Linked DNA regions of Homo sapiens: region 1 is linked to region 2. The links are contacts of gene promoters, found by promoter capture Hi-C in blood cells and fetal thymus (Javierre and others, 2016). All regions are on one chromosome and are shown on one strand. Each heading gives the region's core, a stretch centred on a gene start or on the middle of the fragment in contact. The rest is flanking DNA. Distances are from core to core; before and after follow the strand shown.

The links. The method cuts DNA at HindIII sites, captures the fragments that hold promoters and counts their contacts. A CHiCAGO score of 5 or more calls a contact.
Region 1: a fragment that was not itself captured here is called in contact with the fragment with the promoter of HSD11B2 in region 2 in 1 of 17 cell types (M1 macrophages); the score reaches 5.2 in M1 macrophages.

Annotation. Positions count from the first base shown.
Region 1 is chr16:67,365,705-67,371,898 of GRCh38, reverse strand. It overlaps LRRC36 (leucine rich repeat containing 36), which reads right to left. Exons shown (of 14, transcript NM_018296.6): 8 at 4,442-4,882; 9 at 657-955. Among named protein-coding and RNA genes, the nearest start is that of TPPP3, 25 kb to the left of the region's middle. The HindIII fragment of the contact is 947 bases long and covers 3,507-4,453 here.
Region 2 is chr16:67,429,047-67,435,546 of GRCh38, reverse strand. It overlaps HSD11B2 (hydroxysteroid 11-beta dehydrogenase 2), which reads right to left and starts at 4,426. Exons shown (of 5, transcript NM_000196.4): 1 at 4,034-4,426. The coding sequence starts at 4,298. RefSeq lists enhancers at 1-61, 6,463-6,500 and silencers at 4,308-4,487, 4,708-4,757. The HindIII fragment of the contact is 16,145 bases long and covers 1-6,500 here.

The DNA of each region.
Region 1 (6,194 bases), core at 2,731-5,230, 63 kb after region 2:
TGCTTTTATTACTATTATTTTTTACGAAACTGAGTCACTCTGTCACCCAGGCTGGAGTGCAGTGGCGTGATCTCGGCTCACTGCAACCTCCACCTCCTGGGTTCAAGTGAGTCTCCTGCCTCAGCCTCCCGAGTAGAGTAGCTGGCACTACAGGCGTGCGCCACCACACCCAGCTAATTTTTGTATTTTCAGTAGAGATGGGGTTTCGCCATGTTGGCCTGGCTGGTCTTGAACTCCTGACCTGAGGTGATCCACCCACTCAGCCTCCCAAAGTGCTGGGATTACAGGCATGCGCCACTGTGCCCAGCCTGAAGCAATGCTTTTATAAGAACTATTTCATGTGTGGCCGAAGCAAATGTGTAAATATGATGAGACTGTAAACATAGATGCTACAGAGTTCAATCTTCAGCCGGAAGTAGATCAGGGACAGTTCTCCCTGTGATATAGGTGAGAAAATGGCAGCAGTGGGGGAATGACTTTCCCAAGGGCAGAAGGCTCAACAGGTGTTAGCTTGGCAGTATTAGCCACCAGCCTCTGAAAATCTCTTTGAATTTCTAGCCCTGTTGGTCAGAACCACCTCCATTCCCAACAGAACCCTCATTCTGGTCTCGAACCTGACCTGTTTCTCGCACAAACACAAACAAGCCAACACTTGCCTCGCTGCCTGTAGCATCTTGGAAACCATGCTTTAGATTCAGGTTGGCAAGGATATTGTCCTTCCATTTGAATCCTCTCTTCGATGGGCTTAGTGACCTCTTGGTAAAAATCTTTCTGTGTTCTGAAGTCCCAGGAGACAACAGCAGTGTCCGCAGAGGAGTTGTCCTGTTTCCCAGGACAGCGTTGTTTGGGACAGAACCATGTGCTGGTGTTAAATCATCCAGGCTGGTAGATAATTGTTGCTCTACATTGACAAGTACAGCAGGGTCACTGTTGAAATGGGTTGTGGCATACAGATCTGTGGAGGAAACAGGCTAACAGATGAACCTGCCCTCTGACTGCCTCATGTCTCACTTCTATCCATACCTTGCCTGTAGTCCAAGGGTCATAATAACCACTCCCTAGCATACATCCTCAACTCTCTGACAAAACTCCAACTCTGGTTAAATCTAACCGTCCACATGTTCCAAGCCTACACCAGAGCAGGGGAACATAGCTGGAGAAAAAAACGCATCTGTTCTGACCTTTCTCACTTTAAACTCATGACCACTATTGTAACTGCGCCCTTAGTGGTGCCCAGTTCTTCTGATTTTTTTTTTTTTTTTTTTTTTGAGAGAGTCTCGCTCGATTGCCCAGGGTGGAGTGCAGTGGCACAATCTCGGCTCACTGCAACCTCTGCCTCCTGAGTTCAAGATATTCTCCTGCCCCAGCCTCCCGAGTAGCTGGGTCTACCCACCATGCCCAGCTAATTTTTGTATTTTTAGTAGAGATGGGGTTTCACCATATTGGCCATGCTGGTCTTGAACTCCTGGCCACAAGTGATCTGCTGGCCTTGGCCTCCCAAAGTGCTGGGATTACAGGTGTGAGCCACTGTGCCCGGCATCTCCTAATATAATACTCTGGCCAATTTACTCTTCTATTCTCTGAGACAAATATTTCACATCTCTCTTCAAACTTCCAACACCTTCTCTTCCCTCCTTACACCCAGGTGCCAACCTCCTTTATTTCCCTGAGAGGCAATCAAAGAAAACATCTACATGATCACACCATCAAATCTACCAACTCTCCTGTATCTGTATTAATAAATTCTCTGCCTTCCTTCTTATTACAATAGATGAACTATCTGTGCTTTTATTTAAAACCAGCCTCTCCACTGGTGGACTGGATTCCATTTTCTTGTAACGGTCCCTTTTCTCCCTGGCATCATCAGTTTTCCCTCTACTAGATCACTTCTACCAGGATCTCCTTGACCCCATCCCTTCTCCAGCTAGTTCCATTTCTCTGCTTCCCTTTACTGCAAAACTCCTTGAAGGGGTTGATATGGGTTGGCTGTGTCCCCACCCAAATCTCATCTTGAATTGTAGCTCCCATAATTCCCACATGACATGGGAGGGACCTGGTGGGAAGTAACTGAATTATGGGGGCGGGTCTTTCCCATGCTGTTCTTGGTGATAGTAAGTCTCACGAGATCTGATGGTTTTATAAAGGGGAGTTCCCCTACACAAGCTCTCTTGCCTGCCACCATGTAAGACGTGACTTTGCTCCTCATTCACCTTCCACCATGATTGTGAGGCCTCCCCAGCCATGTGGAACTGTGAGTCAATTAAACCTCTTTCCTTTATAAATTACCCTGTCTTGGGTATGTCTTTATTAGCAGTGTGAGAACAGACTAATACAAGGGTTGTCTATATTCAGTAACTTTACTGCCTTGCTTCCAATTTTTTTCTTGAATTCACCTCAGTGAGGCTTTCATTCTCATGCATCCCCTGAAGCTGTTCATTAATGTCTTCTTCATTGCCAAATACCATAATCACTTCTCAGTCCCAGGCTCCCTCCCTCCCTATCAGGAGAAGCATTTGACCTAGCATTGATCACTCCCTCCTTCTTGAAACACATTCTTCACTTGGCTTCCAGGATATTACTTCCTCTTGGCTTTTTCCCCTCTATCTTACTGGCTGCTGCTTTCTCACTCTCCATGATGGTTTCTCTTTATCTACTTCTAATTGTTGGAGGGCTCAGGACCAGTCCTCAGATCTCTTTTCTATCTATATTCACTCTTTTGGTGAGATTTCATCCAGTCTCAGAGTTTTACTGTCACCCATACACTTATAATCTCCAAATTTATATTTCCAGCCATACCTTCTTCCCTAAACTCTGGACTAGTATGTCCAATTACCAAATTGGCATCTCTGGAAAGTTTTAATAAGGCACCTGAAACTTAAGATGTCCAAAACCCAACTCTTGATATTTATCTTAAAATCTCTACCTCCCATTCTTTTCCATCTTAGTAAATGAAAGCTCTGTTCTTCTAGTTATTCAGACTCAAAACCACAGAATTACCATTGACCCTCTTTCTCCCACACTTTATCCTGGATCCATCAGCAAACCATGGAGTGTCATCTTCAGAACATATTCAGAATCTGACTACTTCTCACCACCTCCACCGCTATCTGTCTAGCCCAAGCCATCATCATCTGTTACGCTGATTCCAATCTCTCCAAAGCATTTTAAAAAAATTTCTACCCTCCTCCCCATAGTCTATTCTCAGCCCAACATTCACAGTAATTCTTAAGTGAGATCACATCACTCCCTTGCTACAAACTCTCCAACTCCTTCTGATCTCACCCAGAAAAAAGTCTGGCATCTTTCTTACTTCATCTATACACTCTACTTTCTTTGCTGAGGCCGCACTGGCCTCCCTGAGGTTCCTTGTACATGAAAAGTATGTTCCAGCCTCAGGACTTTTGCATTTATTCCCACTGTCTAGAAAGTTCTCCTCCCAGACCCACATGGCTTATACTCCCACTTCATTCAAGTCTCTACTTTTATGGTGCCTCATCAGAGAAGCTTTCTGGACCATTCTATCTAAAGCATCGCCTCCTCCTTATCACGCTCTATGCCCTTATATAATTTTTTCACAGCATTTACCATAACCTGACATATATTTGCATGCTAAAATGTTTATCATGTGTCTTACCCCATGAGAATGTAAGCTCTATGAAAGTAGGGACTGTCTTCTTATTATGGTAAAATATACATGGAACTTTATTTTGGTTGCTACTTTATCTCCAGAGCTAGAACAGTGTCTGGGACACTGTAGGTGTTCAATGAGTTTGGTTGAATAAATAAGTAACAGAAGAGTGATCTCTGTCACTAACTCTGAAACTAACTTCTGTTTTTGTTTTCAAGATGGAGTCTTGCTCTGTTGCCCATGGAGTGCAGTGGCCCGATCTTGGCTTACTGCAACCTCTGCCTCCCAGGTTCAAGCAATTCTCCTGCCTCTCAGCCTCCTGAGTAGCTGGGATTACAGGCGCATGCCACCATGCTCAGCTATTTTGTGTGTGTGTATTTTTGGTAGAGACGGGGTTTCACCATGTTGGCCAGGCTGGTGTCGAACTCCTGACCTCGTGATCCACCCGGCTCAGCCTCCCAAAGTGCTGGGATTACAGGCATGAGCCACCGTGCCCAGCCTGAAACTAACTTCTTCTGAAAGTAAGTCAGAATAGAAGTGACTGTGAGTAAAGACTAGATGTCCTGGGATGCTGCTTAACTAAAATAGCAAGTAGCTGCAATGCTCACTTTCCTACAAATTTTCCCTAATATATATATCATGTTAAACTCATACCCTACAGATTTCTCGAGGTTCCAAGAACCACTGGTGACCCTAAAATACAACTTAAGAAATGCTAATACAATTTCAGAAGGGTTAATTCCAAAATTTTCACTTATATCTTCTATCTTCATGCCTATGAAGAAGACCTGTAAACTGACAGGAAGCTGTTACCTGAACTAAGCTTCAAAAGCCTTCCAGTGCTGGAGTCAGGGTTTGACAGAGAAGTTAATAAGTCTCCACAGGAATGTGAAGCGGTGGTCTTTATGTCATTTGAAGGCTTTATGCTATACTCTTGATAGTTCTTGCTTCTCTGAGGCCTTTTACCAAGACTTCCATGCAGGGATAGAGTTTGAGAATAACAACTGTCATAATTTTCCAGACCAACATCTGAAGGTAACTGATAGGGATGGATCTGGCTAGAATCACCCACATCCAGGCATTTACTCAATGAGGCATCATGGGTAAGATGAAAAGTATCAGGTTTTGGTATCAATTCCTTTTCTGGAGAAGAACCTGAAGACTTATTGTCCAAAAAAGATACTTGGTACCCTTCTCTAGTCATCTTCTCTGGGGATCGGACTGTGGACTGACGAGGCGAGTAGTGTCTGAACTCTAAACACCACCAAGGCAAAAAAACAAAACATGATAAGAATTCTTTGTGGCCTAGCTGGGAGTACCTCTGTTCACTGAACATATTCTCTGTCTGCCAGAAACACCTCTCAGGAAGAGGTGGTTTATAATTCTGATCAATGGTAGCATAAAGTGATGAAAGGACTTCCACATGGAACACCACCACCACCAATAAAATGTGGGACTTTTGTGTAAACAGTAAAGAATCTATAACATTCTGGAGACAAATTCTGTTTCTTTTTTTTTTTTGAGACAGGGTCTCACTCTGTCGCCCAGGCTGGAGTGCAGTGGCGCAATCTCAGCTCAGTGCAACCTTCGCTTCCCAGAGGGAAGCGATTCTCGTACCTCAGCCTCCCGAATAACTGGGATTACAGGCACATGCCACCATGCCCAGCTAGCTTTTGTATTTTTAGTAGAGATGGGGTTTCACCGTGTTGGCCAGGCTGGTCTCCAACTCCTGACCTCAAGTGATCCACCCGCCTCGGCCTCCCAAAGTGCTGAGATTATAGGCAAGCACCACCATGCCCGGCTAATTTTTGTATTTTTTGTAGAGATGGAGTTTCACCATGTTGGCCATGCTGGTCTCAAACTCCTGACCTCAGGTGATCCACCTGCCTCGGACTCCCAAAATGCTGGGATTACAGGCATGAGCCACTGTGCCTGGTCCGAAAAAAATTTTTTTAATTAGCCAGGTGTGGTGGTAGTCCTAACTACTTGGGAGGCTGAGGTGGGAGGATTGCTTGAGCCCAGAAGTTTGAGGTTATTATGAGCTCTGATTGTGCCACTGTACTGTACTCCAGCCTGGGCAACAGATTGAGAACTTGTCTCAAAAATAAAAAAAATTAAAAAAAAAGAGAGAAGGAAGTGGGAAGAGAGAGAGAGAACGAACTGCCTAGAAATCTACACCCATCTAAAATACCCTTCAAGAATGATAGTGAAATAGAGGCATTATCACACAAAGAAAAGCTGAAAGAGCTCATCACTAATAGACCTACATTAAAGTATGTGCCACTGTAAGGCAAAGGAAAATGATATCAGAAGGGAAGCCTGGGAAGAAAAAGGAAGTGAACAAACAGTAGTAAATTAATGGATAGATTTAAATCTACACTGACTATATAAAAAATAATATCTTGTGAAGTCTTTAAAAATATAGAGAATTAAAATTCATAATAACAACATATAAGTCAGGAAAGAGTAAATGAAATAAAGTACTGTACGGTTTTTGAATTATCCAAAAGAAGACTTAAGGTATTAACAATTTAAAAATTATGTAAGTTAAGGATACATATTATCA
Region 2 (6,500 bases), core at 3,177-5,676:
TGGGATCCAGGCCCCTGCAAACCAAGCCACCAGCAGTCAACAACCCTAACTCCTTCCCTAGGCCCATCCCTGGCAGGCTGTGTCCCTCTAGCTGAGCCCTGGGCAGTAACTCTGTGACAGCTGTCATCTGCCTGACTCCCCGTGGCTACCCCACTAATGTGGCTTACAGAAGAGGAAACTAAGGCCTAGTAATGCTAAGTTGCTTCCCAAATTCACACAGGTCAGGTCTGGGACAGTCCCAGGCCCCAGTGTGGTTCTGCTTTCTTGATTTCAGGCCACAGCTCACAGGCACAGGCACAGTATTAGTAGGAGCCTCCCTTTCTCTTTTTTTTTTTTTTTTTTTTGAGACAGGGTCTCGCTCTGTTGCCCAGGCTGGAGTGCAGTGGCATGATCTTGGCTCACTGCAACCTCCCCTCCTGGGCCCAAGCATTCCTTCCTCCTCGGTCTCCTGAGTAGCTGGGACTACAGGCCTGTGTCACCACGCCTGGCTGGTTTTTTCTTTTTTTTTTTTTTTGTTTGAGACGGAGTCTCACTCTGTTGCCCAGGCTGGAGTGCAGTGGCGTGATCTCAGCTCAGTGCAACCTCTGCCTCCCGGGTTCAAGCGATTCTCCTGCCTCAGCCTCCTGAGTAGCTGAGACTACAGGTGCGCATCACCACAGGCCTGGCTAAGTTTTGTATTTTTAGTAGAGACGGGGTTTCACCATGTTGGTCAGGCTGGTCTCTAACTCTTGACCTCGTGATCTGCCTGCCTCGGCCTCCCAAAGTTCTGGGATTACAGGCGTGAGCCACTGCGCCCAGTCTACCTGGCTGGTTTTTAAATTTTTTTGGAGAGATGGGAGTCTCACTATGTTGCCCAAGCTGGTTTTGAACTCCTGGGCTCAAGTGATCCTCCCACCTTGGCCTCTCAAAGTGCTGGGATTGAAGATACAAGCCACCACATCCGGCTTCTCTTCCTTTCTGACTGCCCAGGCCTCTCCTTCCTTAATCTGGACTCTGAAGCAGCCCCTTCTGTAGTCCTGTCCCTTCCTGCCCTCTTGAAGCCCTTCTCTACCTAAGCAGCCAAAGGGATCTTTCCAAAAATGACAATATCCCTCTGTGCTACAAACCTTCCCAGGGCTGCCACAGTACTCAGAATGAAGCCCAAGCTCCCTGGCTCAGGCCCTGTACAACATGAGCCCCACCTCCCTTCCCAGCCTCAACACCCTCTACTATTTTTTCAGGCTGGAGGCAAGCTGGAGGCCCATCCCCACTTCACCCAGACCCTTGGAATTCCAATCAGTGGCAACAGGGGTGTTTTCTGAGCCCCAGACGACTTGCCTCCAGGACAGGGACCATGATAGATGAAGAAGAGAACAGACCTACATTTGAATCCTTTCCCACACCCACCAAGTGTGACCGAGGTCAGTTACCACTCTTGGAGGCTTAATTTCTGTCTTTGGTATGCGAAGAGAAGAACCACCAGGCAGAGCCAGTGTAGGGGTCCATAGTACTGATAAGCCCCTGCCTCCTTGATTGTTCCCATGCTGATCCTGGCTCCATGGGCAGCCAGTGAGGGAAGGGGAAAGGCCAGTGAGCAGGGAGGCTTTCTGTTCTGCTCCTGCTCCCACCCCTGGCCCTCAACCCCGCCCCCCAACCCCCATCTTCTGGAACAGAAGCTGCAAAGCAGCTCTGTTTCCCTACTCCTGGACCGCTCAGTACGGTCTCCCCATCTCAGCTCCACTCCCTCTACTGAAAACAGCACTGGGCAGGGGTCTTCGAGCTCCTGCTGAGGAGGGGTACTTCCCAGGCAAGTCTGCCTTGGAGAGGGAGGCAAGCATATGTGTGTGTGTGTGTGTGTGTGTGTGTGTGTGTGTGTGTGTAGACACACACATGCATATGTGCACTTGTCCGGGTCCCCCTCAGAGCAGACAGGTCCTCCCAAGGGAAACAGACCTCCCAGTTCTGACCTGAGCTGACCACAGGCCTCAGCTCTGTGGTCCCAACAGTCACCCACATCTTGCACACCCTCTTGCTCACGTGCACACCCTCAGATACCTGTACACACTTCCAACCTGGCTGGATGTTCTCACAACGGGCTCAATCCCTACCACCCATTGGCACACACATGTGCACATGTGTGCACACAGGCACCTGATCCTCAGCCCAAACCCTGATCCCACAGCTGAGCTCCAGGAGTAGCCTTGGCAAGTGATTCTCTGGGCATTCTTAGGAGGGAGAGGGGGAGTAGCAGCTCTGCCAGGCCCAAAACACAGTGTTCTTGGCAGGTGGGGCTGAACCTGGTTACCTACTTGTCTTCCAGCCGGGTGTTGAGAGACAACCCCCAAGTGTTCGGGCCCTGGGAAACTTGGAGTCTTACTGATGCTTGTACAGGGCAGGTTGGGTGGTCCTCTCTCCCCCAACCCCAGCTTTGCAACCAGAGATTGGAGGAGCCCAAGTTAGAGAAAGCATCCTTCCTCTCACCTCTCTCTCAGGCTCAAGGCCAGAAGCAACAGCAGCAGCACAAAGGCCTGAGGTGAGACCTCAGGAAAGACTACCCAGCTAGGCCACTAGTACCTGCAGATGGCCTGGGTCCTGTTGAGGTGGCTCACAAATAAAGCAGGAAGGGATCTGCCCTGTCCCCAGAGGCAGAGCCCACAACCTGGCCCCTACTTCATACCCGGGGTGTCTGTTGATTTTCCTTCCTCAAACCTCTGAAACTGGGGTCTGCTGAGGCTTCACACTGCGCCTGGAACCTGGGTCTCTCCTGTCCAGCCCGAATGCTTCCCCATCTCTACCATCTTTGCTGGAGTGCAAGGCCCTTGTGCCTCCTTCCCCCCTACTCTGCCTCAGCAGTCTGGCTTCTTACCTGATTCATGGCCCCTCCCAAGGAAACCACCTCATATCCCCTTCTCCCCACCCCCACACCCAGACTGGCTGTCCCCTACAGAGACCGTGTGTACTCCTGCCTTAAGCCTTTGTCCCACATCCTTTCTCTGATCCGAGATCCCTTTCATACTCCACTTATCTCCACTCATGCTCCAAGGCCCCACTCAAGGATTTCCTCCTCCGGAAAATTCTCCCAGCCCCATCTGATCACACAGGGCCCCTACTAGACCGAGGTCTCTGAGAAGCCAGGTTGCTGGCTGCCCCAGCAAAGGCCCAGCGCAAGGACAAAGCCTGGAGCACCTGTCCAAAGCCGTGGGTATTGGCGAGAGACCAGGCTGCTCCTCCCACGATGCAATGGAGTCAGTGCCCCCTGGCCTTTCTCCCCCTCCCCACTTCCGGCGGGCCTCCAGCCCCCCCCCCCCTTCCCCTTCCCTCCCTCTGGTGACAGATTTATTCCCTGCTCCAGACAAAGGAGCTCAGCTAGGCGGCCAGAGGCACCTGAGCCCAGCTCTCTAAGAGCTCCTTCCTGGGCACAGAGGACCAGGAGGGCTTGGGGGTGGGGTGCTGGGTGTAGGCTCCAAACTACTGCCTCAGCAGTTTGGCAGTGGGTGGCTAGACAGAAAGACAGCTGAATGTCCAGCTGCCCCTCACGGTGACCTCTAGCTTTTCTGAACTCCAAGGATCCCAGCCAGTGGGGGATGGGTGGGGTGGGGAAGTTCCCCATCTAAGCTCTTCCCTCTGGCCCGAGGAATGGGAGATGGGTATCTTAGGTGGGGATGTCAGGCAGAGTTCAAGGGGTAACGATCCTCCCTTCTCAAGGCCTCCGAAGTCCCCTGAGACTGCTCTCTTGGGGAAGGGAATGGCATAAACTCTCAAACTCCAGGAGGTTCCCTCTTCTCAGCCACCAGTCAGTTTCCTTCTCGAACCGGCCCACTCCCTGTCTCACTTTCCCTCCAACACTCCCCGCAGCGGCAGGTAGTGAACCCGGGCTTGGGGAGGTGCCCGGCGCTCCCTATTTGGCTCGCTCCCTGCACCCAGGGGTGGAGAACTCTCCCACTCTTGCGCTGAGGAGCCCGCCTTGGCTGTGCCCATGGGGAGTCAGTCCTGTTGAGTGTCCAGTCCCGCCCTCGAGCCTGGAGTCCCCGCGCTCCGCGACCCGCGCACTCACCGGTGATGAGCACCGCGCGAGTGGCCACCGGCAGGCGCTGCGGGCGCGCCAGGCGGGACAACGCGATCCAGCCGGCGGCGGCCAGCACGGCGAGTGCGGCCGGCGGGGGCAGCAGGCGCTGGCACAGCCAGTCGAGCGCGGCCAGCAGCGCCAGCGCCGCCAGCAGCGGGCGGCCCAGACGCAGGTCTGAGCGCAGCAGCTGCAGCAGCGCGCGGGCAGCCACGAGCAGCCAGGCGCCGCCCGACGGCCAAGGCCAGCGCTCCATGGCGGCCCAGCGGGCTGGGGCGGGGCGGGGCGGGGGCCGGGCCGGGGAGCGGGGAGAGAGAGCTTCTAGGCCGGGGCGCGGAGTGCGGGGGTACACCGGCCTGGGGCGCGAGAGGGACACTCGCTTTCTCTGCTCGCCCTCGGGCCGAGCTTATGAAGAGCCCCGGGGGCGGGGGAGAGGGCGGGGAGCGGGAGGGGCGGGGGCGGGGCTTTCCTTCACTTCTCTCCCGGCACCCCCCGCAGGGCAGGTGCTCCCCCCCCGCCCCGCCCCCTCGACCAGATTCGATTTGGAAAAAGCCGGAACAAAGTCCCAAAGTTGCTGCGCTCGAGGAGCCGCCTGGCTGCGGGCGGTGCTTGGGAGAGGGCCCGTCGGTCCAGCCCGGGTGCCCGGCCTCAGCTCTCCGCCGCGCCCCCACCCACACGCCCGGGGCCGCCAAGCCGCCGCGCTCAGGTGAGCACATGCCACTCACGCTTGTTCGGGACACCTGAGGACACGCACAACCGGCATCCCGGTGCCCTTTGCTGATCGCACCACCGCGGCCGCCAAGCCTGCAGGAACACCGCGAGGAACCAGCCGGTGCTCACCCGGTCTCCGCTGCCGCTGCCGCTGCCGCCCGCGCCCGTACACGCGCCGCACTCCCACGTGGTCGGCTGCGCCAGGTCCCTGGCGCACACACCCTAAGGCGCGCTCACCCCTGAGCAGCTCGCGGCCACAAAACCTGCCTGGGACAGGGGCTGGCGGGGGAACAGGACGACCGCTCCCGGTTCTTGGAGTCTCTGCCCCGTCTTTCCCTTTCCTTCCAGGGCTTAAACCTGGGGACGCACAACCCCACTTCCTGCCTCACAAATGTATGTGTGTGGGGGTCAGTGGAGGGTGGGGTGTCAGAGGAAGCACCTAGGTCTCCCATTACTTATGGCCCACCCCCGCCAACCCCAAGAGCCAGGCCAGAGGGACGTCGGTGAAGGCAGCCTCTAGGACAGGGTGGTCCCTGCCTTGCTCCCCTGAACCCCCAGGGGGTAAAATAAGTGGTATGAGTGTGGGTGGATTTTTCTGCCTGCGTGTGTGAAGGTCTCCATGCTTGTGTGTGGCCCAGTGGCCCCCCACCCTGCCCACCCCCGTGTCTGGCACCCTGTGCCTAGCATCCATGCCAGGGCTCTGCCAGGCACTGGGAGTTGGTGCCAGTACCTGGCTGCAGGCTTGATGCTGAGAGCAGTAGGTGTAGCCCTCGACAGAGGGGTCCCTGCTTCCCGTGGGCTTCCAGGCCGTGCTCAGTGCCTCATCCCTGCCCTCCCAAGATCCTGGGAGGTTGTGGACTCCCTGTCACACTTCCTAGCCCTGTTGCTCATTCTCTCTTAGGTGCCCAGGCTCTGCCAGGGTTTCAGGGCAATGCCTCCTCCAAAGCCCTCTCTGCCACCAGACACAGCCCCCTGGTGAGCCAGGGAAATCTCAGGGGAGGCTGGGAGCCAGACCCACCTAAAGGGAGAGTCTCTGGGTGGAGGACCAATTTGCCCTGAGCCACTCCTGTGCCTCCACCTATCCCTCCTCCTAAGGACAGATGACAGGCAAGCCCCAGACCTGGGAGGCAGGACTTGAATGAGGAGGGTGTGTGTGCCTGACCTTGGGTACATGACCTTGTGTGCCTGTGTTTGTAAGCACTTGTGTCCATGGGACTCTGTGGCTTGTCCAGGCCATTTGGTTGTGTCACTCCCTATGCCATGACCCTGTGTGTGCAAGTGAGTACATTTGTGTGCATTGTGTGTGTTTCTGGTAACTCTCTGTCCTTCGGTCTGGGTCATCCTGCCTCTAGAAACTCAGGGAAACATTCCTTTTCCAAAGTCACTGATTCCTGTTGCGGTGAATGTATGGCCCAGGCTTGGAGGCAGACACAGCACCCCTGGCCTGACTTCCTGATTTGAGCTGTAGAGATTGGATTGGCCAGACCCCCCAGCTTTAGCCACCACACCAAGAGTCTGGCTGTGGTTTCTCCAGCCTCAGTCCATTGGAGTCTTCCCCTTGGAGTGAGGAAGGGAGTAGAAGCTGAGATGAGGGTCCTGGGGAGCCTTCAAGGTCAAGGCAACACAGATAGAACCAGCACTTGCTAAAGCAGGAGTTGAAGAGTAGGGGGATGGGGCAGGAAGGCAAGATAAGGAAAGAGGCAGAAGCAGGGTCCTACACTGTCCTGGGAAGGAACCGTGAAGGCCA